Regions from separate parts of the Homo sapiens genome. Here all the other regions are linked to region 2. The links are contacts of gene promoters, found by promoter capture Hi-C in blood cells and fetal thymus (Javierre and others, 2016). All regions are on one chromosome and are shown on one strand. Each heading gives the region's core, a stretch centred on a gene start or on the middle of the fragment in contact. The rest is flanking DNA. Distances are from core to core; before and after follow the strand shown. Region 1 has its middle 100 kb from the start of GAD2. Region 2 holds the start of ABI1 (abl interactor 1). Region 3 has its middle 100 kb from the start of APBB1IP.

Region 1 (2,700 bases), core at 142-2,641, 540 kb before region 2:
GTCAAGACTATATTTCGTTTATAAGATACAAAAACTAATATGGAAATAATTATGGTTGCTGAAATTTAAAAATAAAGCAATAGATAAAAATAAAAAGTTGAGGAAATCTCTAAAAGTAGGAAAAAATAGACAATAAGATGGAAAATGCAAGAGAAAATTAGAGAAAATTATACAATCAAGCCAAGAGGTCCAAGAAAATACAACAGAAAAAAACAGGAGGTTAAAAAAAAATCATCACAGAGAATGGGATGGGGGTATGGGATAAAAAACTACATACAGGGTACAATATATACTACCCTGGTGATGTGTGCACTAAAATCTCACCACTTTATAATTCATCTATGTAACCCAAAACTACTTGTATCCCAAAAGCTATTGAAAAATTTTTTTAATCTGTAATTAAAAAAAAAAAAAAAGATCTTTGAGTGACACATGACTGTAGTCCCAACGACTCAGGAGGCTGACACAGGAGACTGCTTGAGCCCAGGAGTTCAAGGCCAGCATGGGCAACATAGCAAGCCCTCCTGCCAAAAAAGGCCTCTGGGCCAGGTGCAGTGGCTCACGCCTATAATCCCAGCACTCTGGGAGGCCAAGGCAGGTGGATCATCTGAGGTCAGGAGTTCGAGACCATCCTGACCAACATGGAGAAACCCTGTCTCCACTGAAAATACAAAAAATTAGCCGGGCATTGTGGCACATGCCTGTAATCTCAGCTACTCAGGAGGCTGAGGTAGGAGAACCGCTTGAACCCAGGAGGCAGAGGTTGCAGTGAGCCGAGATCGTGCCATTGCACTCTAGCCTGGGCAACAAGAGCGAAACTCTGTCTCAAAAAAAAAAAAAAAAAAAGTCTTTTGAAAAATGTTTGTATCATCGATGTAAACCCATGTTATGAAATGATAAAACATTTTGCCAGTTTTTAAAAAATCATCACAGATATAATGAAACCTTTTTGGTAATATTGTGGACTAGATTCCCTTACCTTCCTTTTGGTTGAAACCAGCTAAAATTGTTAGATAATATATTTAAACATATTCTTAAAAACATCAATGATCTGGCAATAAATAAAAAATACTCCAGGTTAGGAGCTTCATGAAGGCAGAAATCCAGAGAAATAAGCCTAGCACTAAGCCAGTTTTCACCTTGAGTTTATTTGCCAAACTTTGTGGATCTGAGCTTTGGTTTCATGGCTTCCTGGGAGAAAGGAGACCAAGCTCCATGCCTGCTGAACAGAGACTCTTCCCCCATAAGGCTGATACCTCACATAGCTACAACCTCAGTGTAGGTTTCTGAAGAACCAGTCGTGTGGCTATTGAAATCACCAAGAATAAAGCAGGAGTTGCGTTGGGATGACAATGAATCAGATGTTACAATCGACGAAAAGTGAGTAAGTATCTGAAAGTGCCTATAGATGCCTGCAGAAAGGAAGGGCAGTGGGTTGCATGGTCCAATGGCATGAGATTCAAAGACAGGGGTCTGCAGGGAATTGGAGAGGAGGAGGATGGAATTAGAAACAGAAGGGGCCCAGGAGAGTAACCCTACTTTCAAACCTGCTGGTTCCAGGTCTGTGAGAGTGAAAACTAGCCAGCAACCAGCTGCATAGATTTCAGAGAAGCAGAGTGCCGAGGAAAAGCCAGGTTTGAATTAATGCAAGAAGAAGTGCATTTTCAGAAAAGACACTGGGGATGTGGGGAATTTAGGTGAAGACTGCCCAGTGGAAAGGCTTCAGGAGTAGAAGATGGATGGGGCTGGAGTGTGCACAAAGCCTTATGGGAGTAAGAGTCTGTGTGGTGAGGGGTGGTCTGGGAGTCTGGGGCTTCTTGTGATGAGGACACACAAGGAGATGAAGAGAACGAGAGTAATTAGTCCCTAAGGAAGAAGCCAATGTCTTGTTAATAGGCATCTACTAAACATGCAGTGAAAGGGTTTAGTCACTCTATTGACAAGACATTTACTCCCCACAAATTCTTCCATTCTCTCCACCCACCATCAGACATATAGAGACATTAAAAATTGGAAAATAATTGTCTTCTCACCTATAAAACTCAATAAGATCACAGTCATCATTATTTCAAGGCAATTAACAGGGATAATATCCTGCCTTTCAGTAACTAGATTACTTCCAAGAACTAACTGTAAGGTATTTTGTTTTTTATTTTTTATTTTCATAGGTTTTTGGGGAACAGGTGGTATTTGGTTACATGATTAAGTCCTTTAGTGGTGATTTGTGAGATTTTGGTGCACCCATCCCCCGAGCAGTGTACACTGAACCTGATTTGTAGACTTTTAACCCTTACACCCTTCCCACCATTTCTTCCTGAGTTCCCACAGCCCATTGTATCATTCTTATGCCTTTGCATCCTCATAGCTTAGCCCCTGCTTATGAGTGAGAACACATGATGATTGGTTTTCCATTCCTGAGTTACTTCACTTAGAATGATAGTCTCTAATTCCATCCAGGTTGCTGTGAATGCCATTAATTCATTCCTTTTTATGGCTGAGTAGCATTCCATTGTGTGTGTGTGTGTGTGTGTGTGTGTGTGTGTGTGTGTGTGTGTGTGTGCATATATATATATATATCACAGTTTCTTTACCACTAGTTGACTGATGGGCATTTGGGCTGGTTCTACATTTTTGCAATTGTGAATTGTGCTGCTAGAAACATGTGTGTGCAAGTATCTTTTTCGTATAATGACTGCAAGA
Region 2 (2,700 bases), core at 31-2,530:
TTCTAATTTACAATAACAGATATTTTTACGTTGTAGTTCAGAGGCTACCTCTGTTCGTTTCTGTATTTGGATTCACATACTATACATTTACTTAGCTTGTTAAGAGAGAAACCTCAGAAAATAAGCAACCGGCGATGACACCAGTCTATTTTAAGTTACTTATGAAGCCTACAGCTCAAGAACTTTTGGGAGAAGGGAGGGTAAGCCGTTTTTCCAAGGAGTTAAGAACAATTCGTGTTTGATAATTAATGATAGCAGCCCTAACAACCTCTTAGAATACATTATGGTGGGGCGGAAGTGAAAACGATGAGAGGGGGAAAAAAATAAAAAAAACCCGACTTGAAAATGGACAAGCAGACAGATTTACAAACCTTCAATTAAAGGAATTTTAAGATGAACTTCTCTCAAACGCCCTCCCTCACTCCCCACACCCGCTTCCTCCTCTCCTCCGGGAGGTCGGTGTAATGTGACTCATGACAAATTTTTTTTAAATAAATAAATAAATAAAAGACACACCCTCTGGGGGCTGAAACTGACATAATCGCCCCCACCCCACCCTCCGCCGACACACAACACACACCCCGCTGGTCCTCTCCCTTCTGCGGCTTCAGCCTCGTCCCTGCCCTCTCCTCTCCCCTCTCCCGTCCTGGACCTCCTCTCCCGGCGCAGAGAGGCGGCGCGGCGGCAGCTCGGGGGTATTCCGGGACTCCAGCCCTGCGGACTGGAGGCTACCTGGGGGGCGCGCGACCCCGGTGGCCGGGCCCTGGGGGAAGCGGACGCGAGGGGGGCGCCGGGCTGCGGCAGCGGCGGGCTCCCGGCTCCCTCGCCCATTTTCTCTCTCCCCTTCTATCGGTTTCCACCACCACAGCCACTTCCTGTATCGCAGCCCGACTCCCTCAGCCCGGCCACTCGCTCTGTCCCCGGTTGGGGCTGGGGTTGGGGCTGCGGTAGGGGCTCGGGTTGGTGGCAGCCGCTGAGGTCAGGGCAGTTCCCCACCCCGCCCAGTGGGCTGGTCACTCCGGCGGGTCCTCGACCCGGCCAGCGCCCGCCGGCCGCCAGAGCGCCTCACCTGTATGTAGTTGTTTTCACAGTAGTCTGCCACCCGAGTCAGGTTCTGGTAACTCTCGATCAGCGCCCTCTTGCCAGACGGGATCTCCTCCTCTAGTAACATCTGCAGCTCTGCCATTTTCCACCCCTCTGCATCGCTTCCTCTCGCGTTAAAGAGACAGAGGCAGCAAGGTCCGCCGAGGCTCCGAGCACCTCACAGCCCGGATACAAACCGCCTACCCGCCCTCCCGCCTGGTATTGTGGGACGGCACCTCCTCCCCTTCCTCCTCACTCTCTCCAGCCCCCCTCCACCCCCTTCGTGCAGCCGCCTGAACCTCGTTCTCTCGCGAGCGTTTATTTCTCCCACCCCCACGGACCGCGGGATTTTTTTTTTCTTTCGCACTGTCTTCTGGGAATTGTAGTCTCTCCTAGGCTAGGCGGCCCGTCCAAAGCGCATGCGCCCAGACACCTCCGAAAACCAACGCGGCAGAGCGCAGAAAGCGGAGACCGAGGGTGGAGGGAGGGGGCGGTGTTGGGGGGAAGTCCGGAGTTTCCTCACAGCTCCGGAAGGTGGCGCCACAGGGTGATACTGGGGGAATGAAATCGGTTCCCCAAGTTTCATGTGAAACTTGGCAGAACTTGGTTAATTAGGAAATGTCAGTGAATCAAGGACACCCATTCAGAGAAGGATTAAAAAGGGGACAGAGTACGGAAAACTAGATTTTTACTTCCTCTGCCTTCTTAGAAATAAAGCGAGTCAGGCTTTACTTTCTGAAGTTCCGCCCCCATCAATTCATTTAAAATTTAGCAAACATTTCTTGATTGCCAGCTGTTTACCAAGCAGCGTACTAGACACTGGGGGTACAAGTTGAGTACGAATACTCCGTACCCTTAAAGACTCAATTATAAAATAAACATACATAGCTTGTAGTGCTTTCCTGTCCTAATTTCTCTTTTCTCTGACTCTCCTTATCATGTAATCTTCCTACACTTTTAAGGTCATGTGCACGTTTTTTTAGGGGTGGGAGTTGTTTGCTTGTTTGAGACAGGATCTCACTGTTACCCAGCCTGGAGTACAGGGGCACAATCATGGGTCTCTGCAGCCTAGACCTCCTAAAGTCAAGCGATCCTCCTGCCTCAGCCTCCAGAGTAACTGGGACTACAAGCGTCGGTCACTACACCTGGCTGAGCTTTTTAATTTTTTATAGCGACAGGGATCAAATTATGTTGCCCTCGCTCGTCTCGAACCCCTGGCCTCAAGCAATCCTTCTGCCTCAACCTCCCAAACTGCTAGGATTACAATCATGAGCCACCCACCCTGATCCTTCGTTTTTTGCTCCTGGATTTTTGTTTTGTTTTGTTTTTATCACCTGCTTTGGAATAGTCTCAAAAGGCCCTATATTTCAAGCTCTTCACTTCAACAGGAACATTAAATGCTTCGGATATAATCAGCTATGAAAAGTGTTGTCCAAAGACTTTGGACATATGTTCATGTATCTCCATAAAGTCATTTAGAATCAAAATAACTAGGAGTAAAAACATCACTCAACCAAATTAAAAATTGCCAGCACCAGGTATTTATTGAATATTGCCTTTACTGGGGCCTTATTCAGGGCCCCAGGGAACCAGTTTCCCTCTTCGACCTCTGAAAGG
Region 3 (2,700 bases), core at 22-2,521, 520 kb before region 2:
TTTTTTTATCTCTTTATTTGTATTTTTAGTAGAGATGGAGTTTCACCATGTTGGCCAGGCCAGTCTCGAACTCCTGACCTCAGGTGATGAACCCGCCTCGGCCTCCCAAAATGCTGGGATTACAGGTGTGAGCCACCGCACCTGGCTGAATAATGATACTTTCAAAGAGCTAATCTCCTGGTCCAACATTCCACCTTTCACACCATCTCCCACTCTCTCACCAAAGTGTCCTATAACTGCCCTCCTTAAAACTTTTTACATCTGCAAAACTAAGTCCAAATTCCCGAGCATGACATACAAACCCTTTATGATCCAGTTCTTTCTTATCTCTCCAACCTAAGCTCTTGACAATTTCTCCTTTCCAAGCCCCAAGTCACCCACCACTTCCTCTTCCAGCCTCTCCAACTATGTTGGACTCCCCAACGCACTACACAGAGTATACTAGTACAGGGTGTGGCCTGTTCTGTGCCTAGGCCTGAATGGTTGCAAACACCTAAGCATGTGAGCAATTTATTTGTGTATTTGGCTGTTTCCCTCCTCAGGCTGTGGGTTTTTTGAGGCCTGGGATTATGCTCTATTATATTCATGTACCCACACTGTGCCTGACACATGGTAGGTGCTGATAAATATTTTATGAATATAAAAGTTGAAATAATTGAAATAAATAAGAATAACCAATGTTTACACAGAAGACAATACTCAGAAACTCATAAGGGACAGGAATTTTATTTGATGCTGTACATTACTGTTAGTAAAGGTGACCATTAACACAGTTGGATCCTCAAATGTTGATGAATGATCTAAAAAATGGAAAACTGTCTTTAAGCCACATATTGAGCAAAATAAAACATTACTGGTAGATGCATTATATTGCATTTAATAAAATGTGTCAATACTTATAAAAGTATTGCCTTTATGGAAACTCTTGAAGCAGAATCATTGTCTGGGGTAAATACCCAAGGTTCATCATCTCACACCAGGGGAATTGAGGACACAAATACATAAGAAGTGAGTATAAGAGTGGAGATTTAATAGGCAAAAGAAAGAAAAAAATAGAATAGTTCTGTCTCCTGCAGACAGAGGGGTGCCAGAGTGGGTCTTCTGGTTCTGAGGTGAAATGCATGGGGTTTTATAGCCAAGCTTGAGGAGGTGGTGTCTTATTTACATAGGACTCAAGAGATTGGTTGGGCCAGGTGTGCTGTTTACATAGCATGCGAAGAAGCTGGCTGCCTCACTCTAATATTTTATTATGCAAATAGACTCTTTACCTGGCCAGCACCATGTCGGCTTCTTTACTGCACACATGGTTGACAAAGAAAAGGGAAGATGGAGCCTCCATGTTGAACATACTTGGCCCCACGTAGCCTTTTCCTGTTGGCCAAGCTGCTGTCGTTCACCCGCGCAAGCTTCCAGTTTGCTTGCCTATGTCTGCAGCTCGATTTTTAAGGCTGCTCTTTGTTAGAAAAGAAATGATTTGGGGGCTGCTTTTCATTAAAAGGAAAACCTTACCGAGGACTTCCTTACCCTCACTATCTGCCTGAATAATTTCTTTTTAATTTCTATATTAATATTATACAGATTATGCTATTTCAAAATCATTCTAGATTAAAGGAGGCTTGATCACAAACTGAAAACCTGAGTTAAAATACATACATTTTATCTCACATATAGGTAACTATTACCTTTACAAAATATATTTTAGAACTTGTTATAACAGAGGATGAAAGTAAACACAGCACTTACTCCTAGCTTAGGATCAAACACTTGGAAAACATCTGACAAAAGTCTAATAGTCAGCATCTATTAGAAACGTAAACAAATATACAAGAAAAAGCAAACAACCCCATTAAAAAGTGGGCAAAGGATATAAACAGACACTTTCCCAAAGAATACATACATGTGGCCAACAAGCATGTGAAAAAAAGCTCAATATCACTGATTATTAGAGAAATGCAAATCAAAATGACAATGAGACATCATATCACAGCAGTCAGAATGACTATTACTAAAGAATCAAAAAATAACAGATGCTAGTGAGGTTGCAGAGAAAAGGGAATGCTTATACACTGTTGGTGGGAGTGTAAATCAGTTCAACTATTGTGGAACGCAGTATGACGATCCCTCACAGAGCTAAACATGGAAATACCATTTGACCCACCAATCCCATTACTGGGTATATACCCAAAGGAATATAAATGATTGTACCAAAAGACACATGCACATGTAAGTTGATTGCAGCACGATTCACAACAGCAAAGACATGGAATCAACCTAAATGCCCATCAATGGCAGACTGGATAAAGAAAATGTGGTACACAAACACCGTGGAATACTATGCAGCCATAAAAATGAACGAGATCATGTCATTTGCAGGAACATGAATGGAGCTAGAGAGGATTATCCTCGGCAAACTAATGTAGGAAAAGAAAAAACAAATACTGCATGTTCTCACGTACAAGTGGGAGCTAAATGATGCAAACACAGGGACACAAAGAGGGGAACAACAGACACTGAGGCCTACTTGAGCGTGGAGGGTGGGAGGATGGAGAGAATCAGAAAAAATAACTACTGGGTACTAGGCTTAGTATCTGGCTGATGAAATAATCTGTACAACAAACCCCCATAACACAAATTTACCTATATAATAAACTTGCACATGTACCCCTGAACCTAAAATAAAAGTTTAAAAAATAAACACTT

The links. The method cuts DNA at HindIII sites, captures the fragments that hold promoters and counts their contacts. A CHiCAGO score of 5 or more calls a contact.
Region 1: a contact is called between a fragment that was not itself captured here and the fragment with the promoter of ABI1 in region 2, in 1 of 17 cell types (total CD4 T cells). The highest score is 5.2, in total CD4 T cells.
Region 3: a contact is called between a fragment that was not itself captured here and the fragment with the promoter of ABI1 in region 2, in 5 of 17 cell types (fetal thymus, total CD8 T cells, neutrophils and 2 more). The highest score is 7.4, in fetal thymus.

The regions. Positions count from the first base shown.
Region 1 is chr10:26,320,363-26,323,062 of GRCh38, forward strand. No RefSeq gene overlaps it. Among named protein-coding and RNA genes, the nearest start is that of GAD2, 100 kb to the left of the region's middle. The HindIII fragment of the contact is 3,191 bases long and covers 1-2,700 here.
Region 2 is chr10:26,859,678-26,862,377 of GRCh38, forward strand. ABI1 (abl interactor 1) reads right to left here and starts at 1,281. Exons shown (of 11, transcript NM_001012750.3): 1 at 1,070-1,281. The coding sequence starts at 1,186. RefSeq lists silencers at 654-803, 914-1,003 and an enhancer at 1,324-1,523. The HindIII fragment of the contact is 3,622 bases long and covers 1-2,700 here.
Region 3 is chr10:26,336,766-26,339,465 of GRCh38, forward strand. No RefSeq gene overlaps it. Among named protein-coding and RNA genes, the nearest start is that of APBB1IP, 100 kb to the right of the region's middle. The HindIII fragment of the contact is 266 bases long and covers 1,139-1,404 here.